7 separate regions of the Homo sapiens genome follow, and all the other regions are linked to region 5. Evidence: promoter capture Hi-C in 16 types of primary human blood cells and fetal thymus (Javierre and others, 2016). All regions are on one chromosome and are shown on one strand. Each heading gives the region's core, a stretch centred on a gene start or on the middle of the fragment in contact. The rest is flanking DNA. Distances are from core to core; before and after follow the strand shown.

The links. The method cuts DNA at HindIII sites, captures the fragments that hold promoters and counts their contacts. A CHiCAGO score of 5 or more calls a contact.
Region 1: a contact is called between a fragment that was not itself captured here and the fragment with the promoter of MSMO1 in region 5, in 1 of 17 cell types (total CD4 T cells). The highest score is 8.8, in total CD4 T cells.
Region 2: a contact is called between a fragment that was not itself captured here and the fragment with the promoter of MSMO1 in region 5, in 8 of 17 cell types (total CD8 T cells, activated CD4 T cells, non-activated CD4 T cells and 5 more). The highest score is 19.2, in total CD8 T cells.
Region 3: a fragment that was not itself captured here is called in contact with the fragment with the promoter of MSMO1 in region 5 in 2 of 17 cell types (activated CD4 T cells and naive CD8 T cells); the score reaches 7.7 in activated CD4 T cells.
Region 4: a fragment that was not itself captured here is called in contact with the fragment with the promoter of MSMO1 in region 5 in 1 of 17 cell types (M0 macrophages); the score reaches 8.9 in M0 macrophages.
Region 6: a contact is called between a fragment that was not itself captured here and the fragment with the promoter of MSMO1 in region 5, in 1 of 17 cell types (total CD4 T cells). The highest score is 8.6, in total CD4 T cells.
Region 7: a contact is called between a fragment that was not itself captured here and the fragment with the promoter of MSMO1 in region 5, in 1 of 17 cell types (M1 macrophages). The highest score is 6.3, in M1 macrophages.

The regions. Positions count from the first base shown.
Region 1 is chr4:168,997,298-169,001,303 of GRCh38, forward strand. The region is part of intron 4 of CBR4 (carbonyl reductase 4); the gene reads right to left. Among named protein-coding and RNA genes, the nearest start is that of CBR4, 11 kb to the right of the region's middle. The HindIII fragment of the contact is 5,232 bases long and covers 1-4,006 here.
Region 2 is chr4:168,479,245-168,483,137 of GRCh38, forward strand. DDX60L (DExD/H-box 60 like) reads right to left here and starts at 1,248. Exons shown (of 38, transcript NM_001012967.3): 1 at 1,133-1,248. RefSeq lists an enhancer at 1,267-1,506. The HindIII fragment of the contact is 3,319 bases long and covers 758-3,893 here.
Region 3 is chr4:168,462,961-168,466,524 of GRCh38, forward strand. The region is part of intron 4 of DDX60L (DExD/H-box 60 like); the gene reads right to left. Among named protein-coding and RNA genes, the nearest start is that of DDX60L, 16 kb to the right of the region's middle. The HindIII fragment of the contact is 3,373 bases long and covers 588-3,564 here.
Region 4 is chr4:168,376,714-168,380,249 of GRCh38, forward strand. It overlaps DDX60L (DExD/H-box 60 like), which reads right to left. Exons shown (of 38, transcript NM_001012967.3): 31 at 3,013-3,117; 32 at 2,650-2,791; 33 at 1,641-1,762. Among named protein-coding and RNA genes, the nearest start is that of DDX60, 60 kb to the left of the region's middle. RefSeq lists enhancers at 1-38, 2,502-2,671. The HindIII fragment of the contact is 1,149 bases long and covers 1,055-2,203 here.
Region 5 is chr4:165,325,846-165,329,885 of GRCh38, forward strand. It overlaps MSMO1 (methylsterol monooxygenase 1), which reads left to right and starts at 1,824. Exons shown (of 6, transcript NM_006745.5): 1 at 1,824-1,919. RefSeq lists a silencer at 1,423-1,762 and an enhancer at 1,853-2,122. The HindIII fragment of the contact is 2,277 bases long and covers 380-2,656 here.
Region 6 is chr4:168,496,814-168,500,911 of GRCh38, forward strand. PALLD (palladin, cytoskeletal associated protein) reads left to right here and starts at 239. Exons shown (of 22, transcript NM_001166108.2): 1 at 239-381. The region is part of intron 1 of LOC107986198 (a long non-coding RNA gene); the gene reads right to left. The HindIII fragment of the contact is 1,996 bases long and covers 631-2,626 here.
Region 7 is chr4:168,570,574-168,574,565 of GRCh38, forward strand. The region is part of intron 2 of PALLD (palladin, cytoskeletal associated protein); the gene reads left to right. All of the region lies in intron 1 of LOC124900807 (a long non-coding RNA gene), which reads right to left. Among named protein-coding and RNA genes, the nearest start is that of PALLD, 76 kb to the left of the region's middle. The HindIII fragment of the contact is 276 bases long and covers 1,216-1,491 here.

The sequences.
Region 1 (4,006 bases), core at 151-2,650, 3.7 Mb after region 5:
GCAAAGATACTTCTAGTTTAGTTCCATATATGTGATTAAAAACCCAGTTCAATTTTTATAGGAACTCTTTAGGAACAGGGACACTCTTGCTCAAAAAGGTAAATGCATGGCTCCTGCCCAATGAGGATTTATATTTGATAAACTCTAAAGATATAGGCCAGGTGTGGTGGCTTATGCCTGTAATCCCAGCTACTACTGAGGCAGGAGGATCGCTTGAACCCAGAAGGTCTAGGCTGCAGTGAGCCAAGACTGCACCACTATACTCCAACCTAGGCAACAGAATGAAACCCCATCTCAAAAAAATTTTTAAACAATTTTTTTAAAAAGATTATATCCTTTATCGATTTCTGACTAGCTATAAACTATAAATAGAAACACCTCATTTCCATATCCCTAGGTCATTATTTTAGTTTTCAACATTTTTATATACAGCAGAGCCTTTATATTTAAAAAGGCATCAGGATTTTAGCCTATCACTAGTACTAACAATTGTGAGATGGGGCACTATTTGATGTATCTGCCAGATAAGATGTCCACTCTTTGATGTAAGTTTCTAGGACTCAAAAAGAACAAAAACAACCCAACACTTTTCTAAGGGAGAAGAAATAAGGCTCTTACCAAAAAGCTAAACCAAGATTTTAACTAGAACAAATTTCTATGTCTTAATATTATATTTGTAGAGGGAAGCAGAGTGGGAAATCAACTTCATTCCAAACAGCACATAAGAACACTTAGAATATCTTCTCTGAGTAGCTAACAAACTCATGCAAATCTTTGTCAACAAGATTTTCTCCAAGTAGTAAACATAAAAGCTCTTCAACTTAAAAAATAAAGTACTGAAACACTTAAGGTATCCTGTAGAAATAAACATAATACTATTTGTCAAAATTAAAAATGCACATACCTCTGAAGCCTTTGCAGTTCCAGTCCCAAGATTACACTCATATACTTGCAAATGTGCAAAATAAACTCCATACAAGTATTGTCACTGCATCATTAGTTGTAACAGAAAAAGTTCAGAACAAAACTAAATGTCCATCAAAAGGCAACAGGTTAAATAAATTAGGTATACCTTTAAAACAAACATCATTTTCTGTTTTCATTCAGTCATTAAAAGTGACATAACAGTCACAAAACACCAAATATTACATGATTCAATTTATATGAAATGTCCAGAATATGCAAATCTGTAGATACAGAAAGTAGTTTAGTGTACTGGGGAGATTGGAAAGAAATAGGGAATGAATGTTAATGGGTTTAGGATTTCTTTAAGGATGATGAAAACGTTCTAAAATTTACTGTGGTGAAGATTGAACAATTCTGGGACTATACTAAAACCACTGAATTGACTGAATTGTAAACTTTAAATGGGTGAATTGTATGGTATGTGAATTGTATTTCCACAAAGCTGTTATTTAAAAAAGTGAAGCAGCTCTATATGGAATAACACAGAAACATCACCAAGGTATCTTGTTCTATGAATAAAGGAAGATACAGAAAGCTGTGAATTGCATGATACAATTTGTGTTTTCTTACACTCATGCCCAGCATGCTTTATTGGCTTATATATGAAATACAAAAGAAACTTTGTAGTTAACAGCAACTACTTTTAAGTAACTGAATGTCCAGAGGAGAAAAGACTCTTTATGCCTTTTTGTACTTTTGAATTTCGTACTATATGTATTATCTATTCAAAACACATATTTTTTAAGGTAATACAGCCATTACAGTTTCCATTTATCAAATATTATTTCTAATATTCAATATCTTCCAATCAGTATGATTTCCCATGAACAGTTTATTTTATATTTAAAGTAATACCAAAGATTAGCAGCTATTGATCTTTAAAAAGTCAACAGTATTAGGCAATGAATCGCAGCCTAATTTATTATTTTCCTTGTTCCTTGCTTTTCCTGTTATAATTTGCTTTTAAACTGTTTTCCTGCTAATTGGAAACTCCATTTGAAGGTGACCAGGAAAACTGACATAAAAGGACACATATTTGTTAACTGTGATGTTTGTTAGCTGTGTTACAAGATCTGTTGAAGAATCTGGTTGAAATTACTATCTAAAATAAAGTTGGTAAGTAATCCACAGAACTGATTTAATTCTACTATTTCAAGTTGCACTTTGCTTCTGACAAATGATGCATATTCATACCATCAAATCTGCTAAATATACATAAAGGCCACTCTATTAAATGGCCACATTTTCAGCTACAGGTTTTTATCTGTAGTATAAATTGCACTGGAAATCCATAATATATAAATATATATTATGCTCTATAAGGGTTGTATGCTCAACAAAAAAGGGGAGTGATAAATAAAACCACCACTTTCAAAAAAAAAAAAAAAAAACTGCACTGGAAAGTAAAATCTTTAAGAAAGAAAGACTACAACCACACTTCCATAACAATCTTAAAACTTCCCCTTAGTATGCAAACTGGATTCCCACTATTTAGTCTACTGCCTTGACAACTATTTACTCTAAACTAGACAAAATTAAGCATTCTTTCCTTCTTCAACATTTCTATAGCACCATATATGTACCTCTATTTTATATTCGTCATATGACACTGCAATTATTTGTTTACATGTCAGTCTTTTTCACTATACTTAGCTCCTTGTGCAGAAATATCTTATTCATTCCTGTAATTTGGGGAGCTAGCTCAGTCCCTACACGTAGGAGACATGCCAGAAAGTTTGCTGCATGAGTTATTGTTAGCTAAGTACACTTCCATTCCCCGAAACCATTCAGCTTTTGTATTATCATGAACTAAAATTAACCCTTCATTACCCACAGTATTCCAATCCTGAAAAGAGAAGGAAGCAAATACATGTAGTTCCAAACCACAAATAATTTATTCCACAGATAGTTCATCTAGGCTAACGCTAAAAATCAATCAGCTTGCATAAAGCATACACAAAGAGAAAACAGTGCTAAGATAACAACAATGCTGCTTCTGGATTGTTTTTTCTTTTTCTTTCTCTCCCTACTCCCAGCAAATAGATGTATCTGAACCACAGTCACTTATCAAATATTCATAGATTTAGAATGTCTGAATGTAGCTAGTTGCTATGAGAAAAAAAAAAAAGAAAAGAAAAGAATTGAAATAAAGACACACTATAGACCAAAAGGGTTAATAGGATATTTTGATAAATCCCTGATACCTGCTGGCTCAACTTCAGTGCCAAAGAAAACACCAACTGTAAGGTCCAAGCTGGAGCCATTAGTGACCGGAAAGGGAAAGGTAGCAAAGGTCTACTTCAGCCCTCTCTTTCTTACAAAGGACCAGCAAACCAAAATAAACTGCCTTTTCTTATATAGGTGATTAATTCTTAAGTACCTACAGTAGGCTAGGACAAAGATTCCATGGCTAACTGGCAGAGGTAGATAAAAACACTTGTGTTACTCAAAAACCAAGTAAATACCTAATCAAAATTTCTAGCACACCAGCTAATTAGTGATCATATATTTTTGAGTTTTAGCACCTTTTTATTACCCTCTTCATTAATCCAGGCAATTTTATCAACTAGTACCCTGGCGAAAGGCAAATAATGGAAAAGTAAAAATTAGGAAAATGGGAGGTTCCAGATAGTTTAGACAGACCATAGTAGTAAAAGGACAAAACTATCTAAAGTTTGTGTAATGATATAAAGAAAATCTAAAAAGAATTTTTTTTTTAATTTTTATAGAGACAGGGTCTCAACAGGGTCTCGCTCTGTCACCTAGGCTGGAGTACAATGGCATGATCATAGCTCACTGCAACCTCCAACTCCTGGACTCCAGCAATCCTCCTGCTTCAGCCTCCCAAATAGCTGGGACTATAGGTGTGCACCACCACACCCAGCTAATTTTTTTTTTTTTTTTTCGGTACAGACAGCATCTTGCTATGTTGCTCAGGCTGATCTGGAACTCCTGGCCTCACAATACTCCTGCCTCAGCCTCCCACATGAGCTACCATACCTGGTAGGACATTATTTTTAAGCTCCCATTAGGTGGAAAT
Region 2 (3,893 bases), core at 1,167-3,666, 3.2 Mb after region 5:
CTTTGGGATAGAAGGCGAAGAGCCTTGGAAGCATAACTCACCCTCATTTATTTTAGTACCCTCAACTCTCAGCACCTGAGTTCCACCAAACTTCAAACTGCAAATCTTAGATTGAATGGTATGTTACTGTTTTCAGGAGAACACTCGAAATCATGAAGGTCTGTATGTCGTTGATGTTATGGTTTGGACTTCTTATTGTGTCTTTAAAGGACTTGCTTCTGTTTGGTTCTGACCGCTTTTTCTAGCAGTCATTAGGAGCTTTCATAATCCTTAAGGCCCCATCACGGATGATGTCAGCTTCTTTGATTATGGAAAACCTTGAGAAGTTTATTATAAATTTATCAATGTAACTTTGTAAACAAAAGAGAAGCGGGAAAAAAGAACAAAGTACCTTTCCAGAGAAATAGTAAAACCTTATTTCCGCTATTAAGAGCTTAAATCCGGCCGGGCGCGGTGGCTCACGCCTGTAATCCCAGCACTTTGGGCGGCCTAGGCGGGCGGGTCACGAGGTCAGGAGATCGAGACCATCCTGGCCTAACATGGTGAAACCCCGTCTCTACTAAAAATAAAAAATAAAAAATAAAAAAAAATTAGCCGGGCGTGGTGGCGGGTGCCTGTAGTCCCAGCTACTCGGGAGGTTGAGGCAGGAGAATAGCGTGAACCCGGAAGGTGGAGGTTGCAGTGAGCAGAGATAACGCCACTGCACTCCAGCCTGGGCGACAGAGCGAGACTGACTCAAAAAAAAAAAAAAAAAAAAAGCTTAAATACAAGACGGAAAAAAGGGAAGCGGCTTGCTGCCTGTCAATGTCCAGGTTCGAATGGCTGTGCTCAGATGTGGTGACCCTTACTTTCTCCTCAGCACCCCAGATCCCCAGGCCCCCTCGGGTGCAGAGGACCCGTTAAATGCCTGAGCACTCTCCTCTCTCACGGTGGTTGTCCCTCTTCCCTACCTCTCCGCGAAGCTGCCGCCCGAGCCCAGTGGGCGCCCCAGCTTCCCTCGCCCGGCGCGCACGAAGCCACCAGGCCACCTCCCCGCCCGGTCCATCTGGATGTTGAAGGAATCCTAGAACCCCCGCGGGACAGCTCCGCTCCAGGGTCCCTAGCGACACCCGACGTCACCCGCAATCCTCACCCCGGCCGCCGAACCTGCTAGGTCCAAAGAGCTTCGGAGCTGCACGCCCCGCGGGGAGGAGGTGGAGCAGAGGAGACCGAGCGCAGAGCCTGGCGTCGGACTGGGCGCTCTGAGCCACACAGCAGCCAGCGCCTGAGTTTTTATCTAGGGAGTTAGTTTCGGTTTCTTTTCTCCACCGCGAGGCCTTTTCGATTTCCGCAGTTTTCTGGAGGTAGAATATAGGTCTGCATTGGTTTACTCTGAGAATCTTAGGGAAGTAATAGTAGAAGCGATGATATGCTATCTGGGACATGCATGTAATTGTAAAGGGAAAGAAAGCAGAGAAATCTGGGACTCTAAACAAGGAATTGAGGCTGAGAGTAAATGCAGCACGCTAAGCACTATGAAAGTCTGCGGTGAGGTGTGGCGTTTTTCTTTTCTGGCAAGGTACTGGACAGGCAAAAATGGAGTAAAAAAGGATTAGGGGCTTTGAGTTTCTGTCCTAAGAAGTTCATTTTATGAAAAATTTCCAATAGTATAACTGTCCAGTGTGAACATTTGAAAGACCAATCATCTATCACAGAGAATTTAAATTGAGAAGAAGAATGCTCTTTAGTTTTGTCATCAAGCTCATTAATGTTTGAAATTCGAGTTTCAACCCCAGCCCATCATGGTCTTTAGTGCTCCAGACGCTTAATTCCATGACGTTATGCATGTGCAGAATATATTGAGATTCAAGGTGGTGGTGAGGGTGCCCCAGTAACGGCATGGGGTAATAAATGGAGAGAAATCGAAACCGGAAGTTCTGTCTTCAAGAAAAGGAAAGGGTGGAAGTGACTTGTTCACAATAGAAAGAGCCCAGAAGAACAAAGTTTTTTCTCAGACTCTGGAATATAAAGTGGCTTCGAAAAGGAGGTGAAAACATTGCTCACTTCTGTCAGGATTTTTCTTTAATTTTATGTTTGGTTGAAAATAGTTATGATTCTCTTTCTCAATGAGGATGACATTGAGAAAGAACCTGAAATGACTCATGATTAAGTCATGAGTTCATCTCAGATGAATTCCTCTCTAGCATCTGATACTGGACCTTTGTATCATAAGAATGCATTTGCTAGCAGCAGAAAATTGGGCTTTGCTGTAAAAGCATTCATTGAGCTTTTTATGTGCCAGGCAATAGGCTAAGCCCTTAACATGTATTATCACATTAAATCTCACAGAAATCCCATGAGCAACTTTACTGTTGCTATTTTATGGATGAGGTAAATAAGGCTTAGAGAATTCAATTACTTGTCGATGACCCTACAGGTAGTTAATGGTAGCCAAGACTTCAAAATTTAATTCCAAAGATAATATCTACAATATTCTCTGTATATATTATCTCATTCCAGTTCTTTTAAATACTACAGTGTCATTATTCCTCCCCCAAAGCACATACAATTTAATGGGGATTTCCTCTTTTGGTTGTAGAAGTGGGCCCTACATGTTCTTAATATAATTGACTGTCTGCTGTTGTTTTTCTCTCTTAAAGATATAGATGTATCAGGTGGGGATTCCCTAGATGTTAACTCCACACATCCCACTTCCCACCGCAAAGTATATGTACAATGCACATAAGCAGACTCTACTCCAAATCAATATCCAGTTCTCTTCCACTTTAATAATATGTTACCATAACTCCAGCCTGGACATTATCCAGAAACTTGAAAATCATAAACTCCATTTCCACTTTTTAGAGACTTCCCCCTTGCCTCAATCTCTCAGTCTCCTTAGGAGCCCCACTCTTTCACCTCCCCAGGATCAACTCTGTGAACAGGCACTGAACCTTCCTCTCACTAACATTCTCAACTGCTTCATCCACTCTCTTTCCTCTGCACCTTCACTGCAACTTGATCACCTCAATCTAGTAAACCATTTTTTGCCCTTACCAGGACATTGAAGGAAATTGTCTAATATTTTTCACCTCAGATTTACTGTTTATGACTATAGGTTCCTGATCTTTTTTACAGTGGCCCTTAAAACCCTACAGCATCTTGCTGTTCTCTTCAAGTCCACTAAGAATATATCTGTTTTAAAGAGACTCCTTTTAACTGTCTGACACCTCCATCTAGTCCAAGAAGCCCATGACATGCTCCACATACAATATAACCACTCCCTTTTGAGTTGGTTACCTCCAGCTTCCTCAGGAATCTCACTCCATTCCTATATTGTTAACCTCTCTCTATTTACAGCTGTGGTAGACTGAATAATGGTCTCCCAAAGACATCTATGTCCTAATCCTTGTACCTATAAATATGTCATCTTCTGTTGCAAAAAGAACTTTGCAGATATTCCTAAGAATCTTGAGATGGGGAAATTACCCTGGATTATCTGGGGACCTGATATAATCAGAAGGGTCCTTATAAGAGGGAAGGACTATTATCAAAAAGGAACCAGGACAAGGATAATGTGGGAAATTATCAGGATTTCAAGACTGCAAAGGATGGTAAAAGTAAGAGACTCACTGCTGGGAAAACGTACTCTGGAGAAAAAGTCATGAGTACAGCTGGACAACCTTTTGCTAGTGCTTCAAAAAGATCTCTGTGACATACACAGGAAATCCAAAAGATTTCTGAGAATATCAGCAGAAACACTGCCAGCTTGAACTGAAAGGTACAGAGAGAGAATAAAATGAAAGACGGTTATAGGACTCCCAAAATTCCATAAGCAATAAACAGTCTGATAAAACTATTCAGCCCCAAACTTGTGCTATCTTTCATGAAGGATGACTCTGAGGGCAGAGCCT
Region 3 (3,564 bases), core at 1,024-3,523, 3.1 Mb after region 5:
AAAATGAGAGTTAAAATAACTCAACATCAAAAAATAACAGATGCTGATAAAGTCGCAGAGAAAAAGGAATGCTTAACACTGTTGGTGGGAGTGTAAATTAGTTTGACCATTGTGGAAAACTGTGGCAATTCCTGAAAGATCTACCATTCGACCCAGCAATCCCATTACTGGGTATATATCCAAAGAAATATAAATCATTCCATCATAAAGACACATGCACGCATATGTTCACCGCAGCACTATTCACAATAGCAAAGACATGAAATCAAACTAAGTCATTGATGATAGACTGGACAAAGAAAATGTGGTACATATACATCATGGAATACTATGCATTCATAAACAAGAATGAGATCATGTCCCAAATGCAAAAACAGAAATCCAAATACTGCATGTTGTCACTTGTAAGTGGGAGCTAAATGATGAGAACACATGGACACATACAGGAAAACAACAGACACTGCAGCCTATTGGAGGGCGGAGGGTGGAGGGTGAGAGGTGGGAGAGTATCAGGAAAAATAACTAATGGGTACTAGGCTTAATACCTGGGTGAAGAAATAATCTGTACAACAAACCCCCATAAGACAAGCTTACCTACATAACAAACCTGCACATGTACCCCTGAACTAAGTTAAAAAAAAATCTGTTTTTAAATGATATTGACACTCTAGCCTACTAGACTGTCATAATTTAAAAAGAACCCTGACTTTTCTATAGGTATCAATCAAAACACTGCTTTCACTTTTAATGGTGCCAAAACTAACCCCCACCCCAAAAAAATCCTATGTATAAAGATTGAACAAATATAGACTAGAATTCTTAGGAGTAAAACAACAATTGCTTCTAGGAGTAGGATGAGGGAATGGGCTCATAATATACTTTTGTATTTGGGTTGAGATTTGTTACAATTGGAAGCCATTCAATCTGTAATTTTTAAAAACCATAGTATAATACACTGTTGAGGATGTTTATATAGATCAATCCAAATAAGGATAGTGCCTCTATTGATTTGCCATTCTACTGGAATGTAAATACAATTTCTTCTCAGTTTTGATCCTAAAGTGCTTCCTAGAATTTAAGCATACAAAATCAGAGAGCAAAGAAAGATGGTTGAGGGAAGTCTCCTCCTACCTCATGTTCCTAGGTGTCCTTAAAATAAGTATCTATTGTTGCAAATAAAAATTAATTTTAGCTATCAACTACTCTGACTTAATGACATTTCTAGAAGATTATATTCAAGAACTGTAGAATATATATTATTTCCAAGAACACATGGTACATTCACCAAAATAGGCCATGTATTGGACGTCAAAACAAGTCCCAATAGATGTTTAAATTATTGAAATTATACAGAAATATTTTCTTCAACCACAATGGAATTAAATTAGAAATCAATAACACATCTAGAAAAAACAAGAATTTATACATTAAAACAATAGTTTTTTAATTTTTAAAATCATCCTTAAGTGACTTTATAATTGTATTTTTTTTTTTTTTGGTAGAAACAGGATCTCACTTTGTTATTCACACTGGTCTTGTACTCTTGGCTTCAAATGATCCTCCCCATTCAGCCTCTCAAAGTGTTGTTATTACACATGTGAACCACCTCACCTGGACTAATTGCACATATCTATGGAGTACAGGGTGATATTTTGATATATATGTATACAATGCATAATGATCAAATCAGAGTAATTAGCATATTGATCACATCAGACACAATTATTTGTGTGTGTGCGTGTGTTGGAAACATGCCAAATCTGCTCTTCTAACTATGTGAAAAAATGCAATAAATTACTGTTAATTATATCCACCCTATGGTGCAATAATGTCCTCCAAGATCATCATGTTGCCACAAATGACCGAATTTTGTTTTTTATAGCCAAATAGTATTATATAGTGTATATATACACCACATTTTCTTTATCCATTCATGTGTTGATGAACACTTAGTTTGTTTCCATATGTTGGCTATGTAAATAGTGTTTCAATAAACACAGGACAGCAGATATCTCTTTAACATACTGATTTCCTATCCTTTGAATATATATCTAGTAGTGGAGTTGCTGGTTCATATAGTAATTCCTTTTTGTGTTTTTTGAGGAACCTCCATACTGTTTTCCATAATTACTGAATTAATTCAAATTCATACCAGCAGCATATGAGTTACCCTTTCTCTACATCCTTACTAGCATTTTTTTTTTGTCTTTTTGACAACAGCTATTCTAATGGGGTGAGATGCTATCTTATTATGGTTTGGATTTGCATTTCTCCGATGATTAATAATGTTGACTATGCTTTCATACATGTGTTGGCTATTTGTATGTCTTCTATTGAGAGATGCCTATTCAGCTCACTTGCCCACATTTTAATTGGATTATCTTTTTTTTCTTTTGCTATTGAGATGTTTGAGTTCCCTGCATATCCTGGATATTAATTCCTTGTAGGATAAATACTGACAAATATTCTTCCCATTCTGAAGGTGTCTCTTTACTCTGTTGATTATTTCCTTTCCTGTGCGGAAACTTTTTAGTTTGATATAATCCCATTTGTCTACTTTTGCTTTTGCTACCTGTGCTTCTGAAGTCTTCTCCATAAGATCTTCACACTAACCAATGTCCTGAAGCATTTCCCCTATGTTTTTTTCTAATAGTTTCATAGTTTTGGGTCCTACATTTAAGTCCTCAATCCATTTTGAATTGATTTTTTAATATAGTGAAAGTGAGGGTTCAGTTTCATTTTCCTGCATATGAATATCCAATTTCCTGAGCACCATTTACTGAAGACACTGTCCTTTCCCCAGTGAACGTTCTTGATATGTTTTTGTCAAAAATCATTTGGCTGTAAATACATGAATTTATTTTTGGGTTCTCTATTCTGTTCCACTGGTCCAACTGTGTTTTTATGCCAGTACCATGCTGTTTGGGTTACTAGAGCTTTGTGGAATACTTTGAAATCTAGTAGTGAAATACCCCCAGCTTTTAAAACAACAAATTTCTAAATAATCCACCAGTCAAAGAAAAAAGAATCACAAGAGATGTTAGAAATTATTTCTAATTAAATGGTAAAGAAAAAACCATTAGATGCAAATTTGTGATATGTAGCTAAAACAGAGCTTACAAGAAAAATTTTACTGTTCATAAATAGAAAATAAAAAAGATCTTAGCTTAAAATTTCAATTTATGAAGTTAGTGGAAAAAAGAGTAAGGAAAATCCAAGAGAAACAAATAAAGACAAGAGTAGAAATCAGTGAAATTAAAAAAAAGACAATACAGAAAATTAACAAAGTGAAAAAAGCTAGGTCTTTGAAAACATCAGCAAAATTGATAAATCACTAACTAGATTAATCAAGAAGAGGGAAGACACAACTTAGCAATATAAAGGATAAATGAGGGCAGAAGAAAATGGAAATTATCACAATAGAGAATCTGTGAGGCTTTGTCACATACAGTAGATGATATTATGGCTTTCACACATTTTTTAAAAAGTTAACTCCTTATTTTCCCTTAGCAGTATATCAGGTTATAGAATCAGAGATACAACAATGACAAATTACATTTCAAT
Region 4 (3,536 bases), core at 379-2,878, 3.1 Mb after region 5:
AGGGCAGCACGTGCTGCTTACCATGTACACCTTGTGTTGTTTGCCACCTTCTCGAATGTGTATGCTATACAGCCCCATCAGGAGAGCAAGCTCTTGGAAGGTAGCAACTATGTTTCCCAATCATGATTTTTGCTATAGTTTACACATATTTATTGCTCAATAAATCTTTGCTAATTGACTAATATAGAGCAGTTATCCCAAATTATGGTACATAATATAAGAGGTACATGAGATGATTTAGTGTGACACACAGAACATTGAGTAATTATACATCAGTTTTAAAAAATAAAAAGTGGGCTGGGCATGGTGGCTCATGCCTGTAATCCCACCACTTTGGGAAGCCAAGGCGGGCGCATCACTTGAGGTCAGGAGTTTAAAACCAACCTGGCCAACCTGATGAAACCTCAACTGTACTAAAAATACAAAAAAATTAGCCAAGCGTGGTGGCGAAGCCTGTAATCCCAGCTACTTGGGAGGCTGAGGCAGGAGAATGGCTTGAACCTGGGAGGTGGAAGTTGCAGTGAGCTGAGATTGCGCCACTGCACTCTAGCCTGGGTGAGTGAGCAAGACTCTGTCTCAAATAAATAAATAAATAAATAAATAAATAAATAAATAAATAAATAAATAAAAATATCTTCTTTCCAGTCCTCTTCTATTCTTTCTGATAACCCTAGAAAGTCCAGAGGCAATAGACCACCATTGTTTCTCTAAAAGTTTATAATCTCTTTTTGTAGCAAAGAGAGAGAAGCTTCAGCTGAGAACCATGTTAACTGCATCTATTTTTATGGCTTCCTTAGTTTTGAAATCAAAGATCCTGGCTTTCTATTTACAGTAGTAGTAAATATGAAGTTTCCTTTTTAAATACTTTAAAATGTGTATGCATTTAAGAAAATGATTAACAGTTCCAGTGGTTTGCAATGTGGATATATGTCAGTAACTAAAATTGGGTGCTCAGGTCTGGAGGTATATCCAGAGGCATTGTGAGGTCAGAAAGCCTAGATTAATGCTAATTACCTTTTTGTTCTCTATTCACTAGGGTTACTGGATAGAAACAAGCTTCTTCTACATTCCCAGGTTCTAATGCACATTTTCTTGGGTTCTGTTTGCTTGTTATTATTTTGTTGTTGTGTCTTTAAAAAAATAAGAAATTGGAAACAAACAGTGTTACAAAAAAACTTAGAAAATAATTTTTCTTTCAGTCTCTCAACCCTTAAGTTAGGGGATTCTTTCTTAGGTGACCACCTCAATATTGTCTGAAGAGGACATTAGAGGTCATAATGTAATTCCTTCCCTGCACTCCCATCCCTAGCTGTAAACAATCCCAATGGAACTATAGGTTCAGCAGTAGGGCTGTCATTCTATTTAAATGACTATTTGTGTATGTAATCTCTGTTGCTACTGAATTACATAATTTGCTCCAATAAAGTGAAAAAACTTTAGGGATAAGAATTGTTTGTTAGATTAGCAGGGGAAGATGTTTGAACTAAAAATTAAATAGAACTCTAATTATGAAAAGACAACACTATTAAAACAAATGGAGTAGCTTATATTAATTTAACCCTATAGGTACTGAATGCTTTCCAGTAGCATACATTTAATAACTATCATTATTATATCATTGTAAGTATAACAAACTTTACCTTTGACTGAGAAAAACTTAAATTAGCATTTTGGAATTTTGCTGGAATATATTTTCTTCCAAACAAATTTGCCAATACTAACACGAGCTTTTCCATCACATCTTGGGAAAATTGTTGTGAGCCTATTGAAATAAAGAGCATTATTATAAATAAGAATAATGTTGATTCCATTTATTTTCTGCCTAAATTTGTTTTTATAGTACATTTCCTTTTGTTGAAGGCAAAATTTTCTAGCAAATATATACCTCAGAAATTGACCATATTTGCAATACTATGTGCACATTTATTTTTTTGGGTAAGACAGGAGATTTTATATTCTGTGCCTTGTTTTTCCATCCTTGCTATACCCGCCCTAGTTCCCACCCCAGAATGTTTACTAACTGGTTTCCTGACTTGCACTCTCCTTTCTTCAGGCCATCTTGAGAGTGATCAGCCTTTCCAAAGCATGAATATAAACATATCCCTCCTTTACTCAAAAACCTTTGAGGGTATCTCAACGGCTAATTGAAAAATCCAGGTTCCTTGGCCTGCTCTTTAGGGTGTTTCAAATCCTGTCAAAACAAAGCTTCCAAACTTACCTACCAACACTTCTAAACACTAGCTCTAGGTTCTGGTCATCTTGACCTACTCTCCACTCCCCATAACGCATGAGCACCATACTGTGGGCATTAAAAGGTGGCTAGGTTTAATTAACTGGGCTCTGAAGCATACTAAAATCATATGACCATCAGAAACTTATTGTCTTTCTATGCTTCTCCGTTTTCTCTTCTGCAAATATTCTTTATCAGTTAAGTAATATATAAGTAGCCCTCAAATACTCTTTATTAGAATAAATATCAGTTGACTTTTAGTGTCTAATTTTTTGGCATCTGTAAATCTGAACATATACTTAGTATTTATTTGCTTTAATAAATGAGAAGGAGGAAGAAGAGAAAAACATATCTGCGGTTTTGGCTATTCAATAAATATGTTGCCATTTTTCGACTACAGGTATAAAACCCAAGCTTACCTTTCCAGGCTGGCTTACAGAGATTATGGAAAAGGCCTCTCTTGAGAAAATTTACAAAAACAAGATTTGAAGGTTCATGACCATGCAAATATGATGCAAGTCCTGCAAATTTCTTTGGATTACCCTTTTTATTTAAATAGTCCTAAAAATGAGAAACAAAAAGTTGATTTAACTTGTCATGTACTCAAATACCATAAAATACCAGTGTGAGTGACTGACAAATATTACCTGACTTCATTTATTAATAAATGATAAGTAACATTATCATTGAATGCAGATTATAGAAATTTCAGTTGGTTTAGCATAGAAAGAAGTTTACACGGTACTAGTTACAGAGAACAAAAAGCCAAAGCACGATGATACCTCTTTGATAAGGAGCTGCAAGGAAAACAAAAAGTAAAGTTTCAAAGTCTCCATGGCTCTTCGTCTCTTAAAAGACAGCAATGAATGCTTTAGCACTGACAACACCTATAAAAGAAGAGTACTTTAATTTATCTAGTTTTAAACAGTATTTGTAAATACTGATATGTAATAAATAGTACACATACATACTATATAGATAAGGTTACCAGATCTTACGTGAAAGTAAATTTCATTTGATTTCATATTATCTCTTTGATTGTATCTTCACATGGCACATGCTTCCTTGAATTAAATACATCATATAAAGCAGAACTGTTATACATAACCCAGACTGGCAAATAATCTGCTAAATCCCTGAAACAGTGGTGACCAATAGTGGCCTGAAAAAATGAAGTATGAAAGCCAATCCGGCTTACAAGATTAGTTGTCTTAGGCCATTCTAAAGGTAAATAGAGTAATTATATTGTTCTGAATCTTGAGTTATCCCATTAAACCTAATGGAATTAGGTAGATTGCAGTCAACA
Region 5 (4,040 bases), core at 574-3,073:
TCAAATTCATCTCTCTGAGGAGTTCTGTGCTGGGGCTTTTAAGGGGATCCTGGAGGGCAATGGGCTGGAAAATTAGGGTCCTCGATTGGCTGGGGTAAGGAGGAATGAAACCATCAGGATGTGGGAACTGCATTCTTTGGTGAGTCAGCTCCTTGTCAGACCAGCTGAGTCAGTAGTTTCATCAGTACGAAGGACCTGAAAGGTTATCTCAAAGCACAAACTTAACGTTTCATAATGTTCAAGTTGTTGTCTATAGAGCAGTTAGGGGAAACTATAACCTTGTAACAGAGTCTACATGATTCTGAAGCAATAGGCAAACAATTATGAGGAAGGGGTCAGACAGCAAGCTGACCTAATTATTAATCCTCAGTGTGCTGCAAGCTTGGTTTAATTTCGTTCCCCCCACCCCTTTTTCCCAGATTAACTTCATAAAGTATATAGGCATGGTTTCAGACACCACTGTAAAGGCATCCTAAAGACAGGGCTGACTCTGACAACCAAGGGACAGATCCCATTTCTTTTCATTTGACGTGACCGCTGTCATGATACTTTACAAAGAATGTGTGTGCCAAACATGAGGGATAGACGAATAAGTACAGGTCACACTGAATCTAAAAAAGACACTTTTCAAGAGGGAACTTCCTCAAGGAGATAGTACCTGAATTGATGGGGCGGCATGGAGATGGCTGATTATTCCAGGCAGAAGGGCCAGTTTGAGCAAAAGCATGGAGGAATGAAACAATAGTATTCTGTTTTCAGAAGCTGTATATATTTGACACAATATACACATAATCAAAACATGTGTACGCCGTAAACACAATTTTTGTCAATTATACCTTAATAAAGAAGGAGGAAAAAGGGCCTTCACTAGCCCAAATGATGCCCCTGTGCGGTTTTTTCTTTAAAGGCACCTCTTCCGTTAAGTGAAAGTTTTAGTATATTATCACATCTGTACAGTTTTATTATTAAACCCCAGTACACAATATTTTAATGTTGAGAGATGGTGTAAACTGAGCTTTAGAGCTGCAAAGACCTGCGTCAAGCCCCCGCCCCCGCCCCCGCCCCCGGGCACTCATCGTCCAGCACAACAATTGCAACAACACCTGGGCGTTCTCTGCCCATGTAGCGAGGTCAAGGTCCTGGGAGCCGAACTCTCCCTTGATGTTCAATCTTTTTAAATCTTTCCCAGCCTTTATTTCTCATCTGCAAAATGACGATAATCGCATTTGAAATTCTCCGTTTTCAAAATGCAGGAATTTATTAAAGGATACGTAGGCTGGGGAAACAAGGGAGACGAAAGATCTAAATCTAAATGGTAGACCAGAAAAAGGAAGGCAAGGGTGTCTGGAAACACAAAACAGTCAACATAGATTTTAAGACTCATCTATACTCTCTTCTTCCCGGGTTTGGGAACTGCGGTTGCTACACAGGTCACATTTGAAATAAAAGTCCTGGGACGGCGGCCGGCGCGACACTCTCCCCCGCACAGCGCAGGCTCTCACTGGGAATCTGCCGGGACCGCAGTTGCCAAGGCGACTCCGCGCTGCAGGGCGAGGCGGCCATCCGTCTGTGCCCGCCCCCTCACGCCGTGGCGCGCTCTCACGCTTCCCCGCCTCCGGGCGCTCCGCGGTGCCGACCATTGGCTGGCTCTGCAGGTCTCACTATCCTCACTCCATCCGCGGAGCCAATGGCTGGGACCGCCAGGAGCTCGTTCGCGCGAGTCACACGATGTCGGCAACTGCACAGACCAATCACCGCGCCGAGAAGGCGGGGCGGGAGCTCTCGCAGGCCAATAACGACAGGACGGGCCGCCTGGCCCACCCGGCTCCACCCCCAAGCCAGGCGAGGCAGGTTCCGAGGTTGGAACACCTGGCGAGTCCTCGGTGTCGGTGGCCGGCAGTCATCTCGCGGCCGTTCAGGTGAGGGGGTTGGAGGAGTGGCTCATGAGCGAGGAAGGGGGAGCAGGCGGGCTCCCACCCGGTGCTCCGTGAGATCGAGGGGAGCGGGTTCTGGGTGCGGATGCACGCGCTGGGCGGGACGCTGGCAGTGGTACCCGAGACGGGGCGGAAGGAGACTGGAGTGAAGGTGGGCCTAGGCTAAGGTACGTGCTAGAAAGGATGAAAACGGAGTGAAATTCTTAAGTGATGGAACTAGGCTAGGGCATGTTTCTTGCCCTTTAAAATGTGTTGTCTTCGGGAGACAGGACGTAGAAGATAGTTGCAGCACAGGGTGATAGGCTGGCGAAAGTTATACAAAAGCAGGAACCACTAGAAGGAGGTAAGATGTAGTGTGCTTTGGGAGTAGTGGGGTTGGGAAGGGCGTCCGAGAGGAGGTTACTGAAGGATGACTAGGAGTTGAATGGGAGGACATCACCTGTAAGGGAACGATATTTCCGTGGGCAGAGAGGAATGAAGCAGTAGCAACCATGAGTGATCAGATACTGCAAAAATGTGAAGTGTAGGATGGCGAGAATGTAAGAAATGAAGAGTGAAGAAGTCTGGAAGGGCCTCGTGTGCATCAATCACAGCGGGGCTTGATCTTTATGCTTAGGGCAAGCACTCCCTTGAACTTTGAGTGTTTTAAGGAGGTTATCTCTGATGTTTAAATTTATATAGATCGTGGCATTGCATCTTAGAAATAAGGTTTAGGAAGGGCAAGCTTGGAGGCAGGGCAAGTCCAGAAAATGAAGGAGCTGGTGAAATCCGTGTTAAAGTGCCAAAGGACAGAGACTGGCTGACAGCTAAACTTCAAGGTTTCTGAGAATCCACAAATAACTAAATTTATCTAGTCAACCTGTTCCAGAACAGGCTTCCAGTCATTTAGGTTGCCCAAGAATGAGTAAAGGAAAAGGAAATTCAATTTTCCAAGACCTTGTTTCCCCTCTCCTCTTTAATTCCTTGTTCGGTTAGCAACAGTATATCCATTCCCTCGCTCCTTTGTGAAAAGTAAATTCCTGAATGTTAACTAAACCAAGTGTTTCTAAATTGGGTAAGAGTTTGAAGACTTAAGGCAGCAGAATGGGAGAGACTTAAAACGTTATGTCTGAGAATTAGGCATTAAAGGAGGCCTAGTATTTGGGCGGGGGTTGTGAGGAGCACATACTGAACCTTTGGACCTGTTGAGTGAGTTCATGTGCCTCTGAACTCTCTGACTGGATATGACCAGTAAACTTGGATAATTAGATCCTGGAGTTTAGGGGAGAGGGCTAGAGATAGAGATGATGGATGTCAGCATATTTTTAAAACAGAAAATAGTTAAGATCACCCAAGACAATCTGGAATCGTTAGAAGGGAGTAAGGAAGGCATTATTGGGAAACTTTCCAGCTTCAATTCTCATATTTTTTCTAATCTCCTGGTTGAGTCTTTGGAGTTGCTGTTCTCTCTATGCAAAACCCCTCCCTTGACCCTCTCTCCCTCACTCTATTTTTTAATTTGTCACCTCCTTCTCCTGTTCTAGGTCTCAGTTTAGATAGCACCTTTCTCTAGAAGTTCATAGCACTGTGTATTCCCCCCTTTATTGTTCTTATCACATAATTTTTGATGGTTTGGACACTAGTTGTTATTCCTCACTAAATTTTATGTTTTATGAACTCAGGGGTAAGGGCACCAGCTAGCACAATGAATGCACAATACTTGTCAGAGTGAATGCATTTAAGTTCCAAGAACCAAGGAAAGGCGGTATTTCAAGAAGAGAAGTATCAAATCTTCCAGATTAGTCAAATAAACTCCAAAAAAAAAAAAAAAGGTTTATTGGATTTGGCAGCTGGAGATCCATAGCGATTTTTTTTTTTTTTTTTTTTTTTTTTTGAGACGGAGTCTCACTCTGTCGCCCAGGCTGGAATGCAGTGTCGTGATCTCTGCTCGCTGCAACCTCAGCCTCCCGGGTTCAAGCAATTCTCCTGCCTCAGCCTCCCCAGTAGGTGGAATTACAGGCATACGCCACCACACCCGGCTAATTTTTTTGTATTTTTTTGGTGGAGATGTTTCACCATATTGGCCAGACTGGTCTGGAACTCCTGACCTTGTGATCCGCCCACCTC
Region 6 (4,098 bases), core at 379-2,878, 3.2 Mb after region 5:
TGATTTCCAGCTACAAGTCCAAAGTATAGAAGAATGTGTTTAAATCCTACGTTTATCAGATCCATAAATATAGTTCCTTCTATGTTAAGTGGCTTTATTTCTAAGAACCCAGCCCTCGGTCCTGGGGGTGCTTCCCAGCCCGCTGCTGGAATTCCTGATCGTGGCAGTCTGCTGAAACATGAGCTCAGTTACCAAATATAGCTGAGTGGAGTAAGAGGACAGATGAGAGTCTGAGGCCACAGTTGCCTCAAAGTGACCACGGACCAGGCAGTCTCTAATGAATAGGCAAGGCCACAACCTCCATTCTCCCAGAAAAGAAGAAATGCTCATCTGAAATTCATCACCTCTCTGGAGTCTTCAAACTGACCAAGCATTGAAAAGGTCTGTAAGGTGTATCTTAATATACTAACTAGTAGGGCAACATTTTAAGGACTTAAAAAAAAAAAAACTAAAAATACAAAAGTTTTTCTGAAGATATGATACTATTTACAAGATACCTTAATTATTCTTTTGCTTGGAGAGGAAACGTAATGAGAATGTTACGGTTTTGCCAAAAACAGATAATACGTAAGATTTGCCTGCCCACTTCATCTCTGCCTTTGCTGTCAGAGAATTACACTTTCTGTTATAAGCTTAAGCATGCTAAGATGGTGCTATCAATTCCAAAAGGATTAAATGTATTTATGGAGCCAGCTTTTGTCAAGATCGTGTATGTGTTATGTTTCACAGAAAAGGAAAACGCAGCTTTCTAGACCCTCACCCATATTTAAGCTAGATAAGTGATGATGGCTTAAAGTGATAGACCTTAGATTTCAGTAACATTATAAATTGTTAATTACACTTTCAAAAGATTCTAAAAGTAACTCACTGGACATAATTAAATGAGTTGGGATAGTAACAGCAGGTATTTTAAATTATATTCATGCATAAAATTTACATACATATTTTTAATAAGATAACGCTTACTAAGGGAAACCACAGTGCAATCTCGAGTCCAGTCAAGTTTAAACATCACAGAATAATTTTTATCATGTTGTTTTAAGTTGCACATGAAATTGTCTTGAATCCAATATAGGAGGTTGACATAAAATGATTTCAGGCTCATATTACTTATTAACATTTGCTAAAAATACTAATTGCCTTCTAGTATGAATAATGTGGTGACATATAAAGCCATTTCTTGGCAATATAAAACTATTACAAATCTATTCAATCACATATATGCAGAAATTAAATCCTCATTTCATGATAAATGTGCCTTCCAATGTTTTTTCTCACAGAAAGAACTTGAATACTCACCTCAATTATTCAGATTTTTTTTTCAGATTTTTAAAATCAAAGTCTCTTTGACAAGTTATTGCTAACAGCAGAAAAGGCCGATGAGGTTTATCTGGCCACTAACTGCCCTGTAAATACATGATTACACATTCCTAGAATATAAATTAGTCCTCTGGCATCCTAGAATCTGGTATGGATTAGGGTCTGTATCCCAGGGGTTCTGTGTCAGCTCTTCCTCTGGGTTTCTCTGTTATTGCTAGAGCTGAATATTAAAACTGGCCTTATAGCATATTTCACAATAGAATGAGGATCTGGATTGCACTGGACAAGTACAATCACTTTGACCTCCTTACCTCATTTTTTAAAAATGTAGAGGGCAATCATTATTCAGGTTTAAAAATAAATATGACAAGTTCTTTAAGAGATACCAAGTGGAATCTGCAAGGCCCAGACAAGAGCTCCACTTCTTAAACAATATGTGTGTGGAGGCTGTCAAAGGGTATTGCAATTACTGAGCTCCAGTTAGAAATTCAGGCCATCTAGAGTTAATGACTGTGTCCCGGTGAAATTACAGCAAAGAAAACAAAGATTGAACAAAGTATCTTCGACTAAAATTTCTAACTGTTAAATCATATTAGAGAATATAGAAGCAAATTTGGTAAATAGGTTTTGAATTTAAGTGAGAAGAATAAAGCCCTGAATTGGATAATGGTAATGGAAATGGATAATTCAGAAGTAAAATCTAAATATTTGCAATGGACTCAGTATGGTGAATAAAGTTGATAAGATGAACAGGACATGGGATAACTTCAAAAACTCTGTAAAGTATCTTATTTGGCTGTTTCTGCATTAAATGAGCTATTAGATTATGTCCTTGAAATTGAGATTAAATAAGCTGTTTAAAGAGATATTTAAAACTGTAGGATAAATATATCTGCCTGCATTGACAATTTAATAATTAGAAAGGAAAATAATCCATGTGTATTTATTAAGAAATAAATTATAAAATTGTAGTGCATTTTCTGCATCAAACATAAAATTTCATAAAATTTTCGTGTTTGACTTTTGCCCTAAAGGACCCTTTGTAGCAAAAAAAAAAAAAAAAAAAAAAAAAAGGAAGGAAGAAAGAAAGGGAGACGGGGAAGAAGGAAGGGAGAAGGGAGGGAGGAAGGGAGGGAGGATGGGAGGGAGGATGGGAGGGAGGATGGGAGGGAGGAAGGGAGGGAGACATGGAAGAAGGGGGAAGGGAGGCAGAAGGGAGGGAGGGGGGAGGGAGGAAGGGAGGGACTTTATTGATTTAGTCTAGGGGGGTTGCCTGTGATTCTGAAGCATGAAAATTAAGTGTTAAAGCTTTTCTAACTTTGGTTTTCATAGTTTAGGTTTTATTAAAAGATATTTCAATATCTAATATTTGTATCAATGGTTTGCATTACTTTTTTAGTAATTGCTTAAATATGAAAATAAAACTGCTAAACCTAAAATTAAAAATCACTTATAACTTTTTTTCAAAAATTACAAAATAAGCAACAAAAGATCCCCCTGCATGTCCCACCTTTCAACTCCTACCCCTGCCTAAATCCCCCCACAGAGGTCAGTGTTGATTGTTTGGTGTATGTTATTCCAACCATTTTCATATATTTATTCCTATCTATGTATACATTTTTAAATGACTATGGGAATTTAGCTATTCCACCTGGACTCTCTAAAGAATCTGCTGAATGTGGTACATGGTATTAAGTGATCCTTACTGCCTGTCAATGTTTTTCTAACATCAAACTTTTTCTTTCAAAATTGTAGCAGTTCTTCATCGACTCAAAGTATTTCACAAACAGACTTCAAAAGTTTTCCCCTTATCTAAATTTTTAAAGTAATTTCCTATAATATCTCCAATGAGAGAAGAAAACTTTGCAGTTAAATGCAGGCTTCCACCCTGAGTCTGCCACTTTCTGATGGCTCAGGTTGGGCCAAATAATTGAAACTTTTTCTGCTGCAGTTGTGGGTAATACAAACAATAAAATAGAAAAATAACATCTACTACATGGATTGTTCTGAGGATCAAACTGTTCACTTTTGAAAGCAGGTAACTTCCAAGCTGTTATGTAGGAACAACTTGCATTGTCACTGAATTCTTTCTACTTACTAGACTCTGCTCTTTCTCATGTATATTCCTTGTCTTCCCCAAGTTCCTCCACGTCAAAGAAATCTGTTGTAATTTCAACAGTCAATAGTGCCTTGATTCATGGGGATCATGCCAGGGGGTGGTCCCATAAGTCTTGTTTGTTTGTTTTTTGAGTCAGGGTCTCACTCTTTTGCCCAAGCTGGAATGCAGTGACCTGATCATCGCTCACTGCAGCCTAGAACTCTTGGACTCAGACAATCCTCCCACCTCAGCCTCTGGAGTAGCTGGGGCTACAGGCACACACCATCACACTCAGCTAAGTTTTTGGGTTTTTTTTTGTATTTTTGTAGAGATGAAATCTAACTATGTTGCCCAGGCTGGTATTGAACTCCTGGGCTCAAGCGATCTTCCTGCCTCAGCCTCCAACAGTGCTGGGAGTACAGATGTGAGCCACCATGCCCAGCCCCCTATAAATATTTCTTAACTGACAACATAGAGGATTCTCCCAAATATCATAGAGCTGGCTTTCAGGTAATCTATCCCCAAAAGTCAGCAACTTTAAAGGCAAATGGTAGTCATAATTTTTAAATTTGTCTATTTTTTCTATCATTTGTATATTCATATATGAATGTGAACCATATACATTTATGCCTATAGTACATATTCAGGATCTAAAAAATAAATGTTTTGCCAAATATTAG
Region 7 (3,992 bases), core at 104-2,603, 3.2 Mb after region 5:
CCATGTTTATCTTCTGAGATAGGAATAAAATTAAAATGTGTTACCATAGAAGCATCTGTAACATTTTATGAGACAAAAGATCCTTTTTTCCACACAAAGATCCAAGCCAAAAGCATTATCCATTAAGGAAAGCAATAAGGCTAGAGGGACATTTTTTTATAGTCATATTATGGAAATACTAAAGATCCAATGTCCTGAAGTCAAATTGGGAAACACAGCTGTTCACATTCATTTTTGTCCTGGATTGACACTCTTGGTTAATTCCTGAATATTGATCAGTTCTTATCCTCCAACATCCCTAAAACTGGAAAAGTTTTCTCCTATCCACATTTATTCTCAAATCACATTTTAGGGAATAACAAAGAGGTGAATATAAATCTATGCCTTGTGAAGCATTTATTTAGGCTCTATGCCTGACTTGGTTTTGTAATCTTGATTTTTATTCTCTGGAGCTTATTTCTTTGGCTCTCTTCTTTGAAAATAATGGCAGGGTTCTCATCTAAAGAAAAAACATAGAGAGCTTTTAAAACCTTGCAGTCCATGAATTTTCTTTGCATTTCATCCTAACCACCGTTGCCTTCTTTACCATTCAGTTCTCCTTTCTCCCAGAAGCTTTCCAGAGTTTCTTCCCTCTTTTCCTTCTGCTTCATTTATTCTGCACCACATGCTCTAAAACTTACCAGTTCATTCATCTATTTACTCTATGTGTGATTCTGTGAACTGTAAGTAGAAGATTCTAGCTGGATCCATTTTAAAACTAAGATAACTTTTTTCCCCTAAACGTAAGCACTATGTCCAAGTTATCAATCAAATTTATCTGCTTTGATAGTTGACTCATTACATACCTGAAACTGGAAAAGTTTTCTTCCATTCACAATTCTTAGGTTAGCTTAATATTTACGTAACTTATCAACCATTCAATTAGAAGTTTTTAAGTATATCTAAGGAAAAAATTTTAATTGCAATCCCTGACTTCATTTAAATTCCAGTTGACTCCCAAAATGTGTTACTTTTCACAGATCGAGAATTTGTAAAACTATAGAAGTCAAGCCACTCAGTTCTCTGTATTCTCCTTGTCTGTTGACAATTTTTAGCATTCTTTAGAAATCTGGTTTTATCGGCAGAATGCAAGATTCTTGAAGGTAAATTTCATGCTATGAACATCAGCCTTCCACAACTGCTTATTGAGTAGACTACTAAGCCAAAGAATCTTAAAGCTTTCTCTGTAGATTTTAAACCTGAAGAGAAGTTAATGTTCTGAATAATTCTATTGCCTCGAGACTACTGTAGATGACTGAGTTACAGCATTTTTGTTTATAAGAATTATCAGTGCCAGGCCTGACTGAGTTACAGCATTTTTTATCAGTGCCAGGCCGGGCATGGTGGTTCACACCTGTAATCCCAGCACTTTGGGAGGCCGAGGCGGATGAATCTATTGTAGTATGGTGGCTGGTCAATAGGCTTGGCCCTTGTAATACCTGAAGCACTAGAAGCTTAAAGCCTGAGAAGAAAGGCCTTGCTTAGTAAGAAATCGACTTCCTGTCCCTCCTGATACAGTACTCAGTGCAGTGGACACAGCTTTTTCTTCTTGGCAGTGAAACCTCCCTCTGCACTTGTCACCTTAAGCACTGCCTCATCACCACCATTATAGCCGTCAGTTTGTGGTATCATTTTTCAGCACTCAGTGTGGTCCAGGTACTCTATAAATATACCACATCCATGATCTGATTTAATCTTCACAATAATCCCATGATATAGATATATTTGCCAGATACGGAAACTAAGGCTCAAACAGAACAGTTATCCAAAATGGTTATGTAGGAAAACTGGGGTACAAACTCAGGTCATTCTCCCTCCAAGGGCCAAGATTCTAACTGCTTTTTCACAGCGGTAGAAAAATATTAAGGGGAACCTCCACCTTTTGATTTGCTCTGGGTTAGTAAACCCTTTCACTAGGTGTGGACGTTTAATAGGCCTCTCAAACTCAACGTGTCCAAACCGAACACTTGATTTGATATCCCCCTTCCCAATCTGTTCCTCATATAGTCTCAGAAAATGGCACCACCATCTAGCCACTTGCTTAAAGCCAAAGCCTGAGAGTCATACTCTGTTCCTTCACAGCTTACTTCATCAGCAGGTCCCATTGGCAAAACCTCCAAATCTGAACACGCTTCTTGCCACCCACACTGCTCAGCCCTGGTCCAAGCCATCCTTCCACGGACATCAGCAGCTACCTCCTAAATAGTATACCTTCTTTTGTGCTCCATATAATGGTCAGAGTGTTCTTTTTAAATTGTAAATCTGATCCAGACATCAGCCTGCCAACAACCCACCAGCACAGGTGGTTGTCAGCAGGCTGATGTCTGGAGCAGATTTTTTTTTTTATTAATTTAGAACAAAATCTTCTGTTCTTAATATAATCTACAAGTAAGGCCCAGCCAGCATGTTCTAGAGTCTGTCCACCTCTCCACCCTCATCTACCACTCTTCTCCCCAACTCACGCCTACAGCTGTGTTCTGAGTAAGCTTTCTTTCCATTTCTCAAGATTTCCAAGCACAGGAAGTCTCAGGGCCTGTGCATTTCCAGTTCCTTCTGCCTGGAGTGCTCTTTTTCCTAGATCTTCTCATGATGACAGGTCTCAGCTCAAAAGTCACCATCTCAGGAAGCCCTGCTCTGAACACTCCCGCCAAAGGATCCCTCCCCTACCCCATTTCTTTCTACCCCATTGCCTTTTTTTTTGTTAATTGTGTAGCATTTACCACTCTCTGCAGTCATTTGTTTATTTACCTGCTTATGTGTTGAACTATCTCTCTCCTTTCACTAGGTCTTTAGTTCCTTATCAGCTGAGTTTGTCTGTCTTTCCCAATTCTATACCCCCAGTGTCCAAAACACCTTGACATATGGTTTGAATGAATGAGTGAATGAATGGCTAAGAAGATTGATGGTCATGTAAGGAAACATATCCCAAATACCCTTCTGGTTTTTATTGGTGGGGGACAATAAATCAGTAACTACAATTTAGAGAGATGATTGCTATGACTGAAAGGTATGAAGAGTTCTAAAAGAACGTGGGAAGTTGGGAAGGAACCATCTCAGGCTGAGAGGGTTAGAAAAGGATCCCTGGAGAAAATCATGCTTCTAGGAGGCCCTCTTTCCTATGGTCTGTTCATAAAGCATAAAGGTACCCTTCCCAATTATACGAAGCTGCATACCATTATTGGTGTGGAAAAACAGTAACCCTGGTATTGTATTTCTAAATGCTTGAGACTACTAACATAATCTTGATCACTATGTTCATTTATCCTTGGAATACAACCTTTTACGTTTGAATCTTAATTAAAGAGAAAACAACTTCTGGGAAGCAGCTTTTTTTTTTTTGCAAGGTTTATCCTCAGCTTGCCAGGATAGCTACATTTTTGGATGATCTGTGCCACGTCTTGCTTTCAGACTCTTATTGGTATTGTCGTGGTGCTTAATTAAGCATAATACTAGCATAAACAGTATAGTCATGGAATGCTGGAGATAATAAAAAGGGCATGTTGAGAAGCATCAGACACTTATTGCATAGTTAAAAACATGACTTTCAGAAACCTCCCAAAGTCAGAGAATGTTTAGAAACTTATTTTGGATATCCTGAGTCACTTCTTACTTTCAGTGGGTACAATGGGATCAATCACTGATTATAAATTATTGTGCTTTACAAGATGCTTACCACAAAAAACCCCCAAAGAAACAAAAAATTAAGAAAGAAAGAAAGAAAATGCTCACACAGATGTCCCTTCTAGCTTTTGCCACTATTTAGCCTCTTGGTTAAAATGTTCCAGTAGCTTCTTACTTGTCTTCTTTTCTTGTTATTCTCATCTTCAAACCACTGTCAGGCCAGTTATAATAAATGATCATTTTATGCCTCCATTATGCAAGGCAGCATATTGCAGTGAAATTATTTATTTGTTATGTCTGTCTCCCTAATAGACTGTATGTTCCTTGAGGAA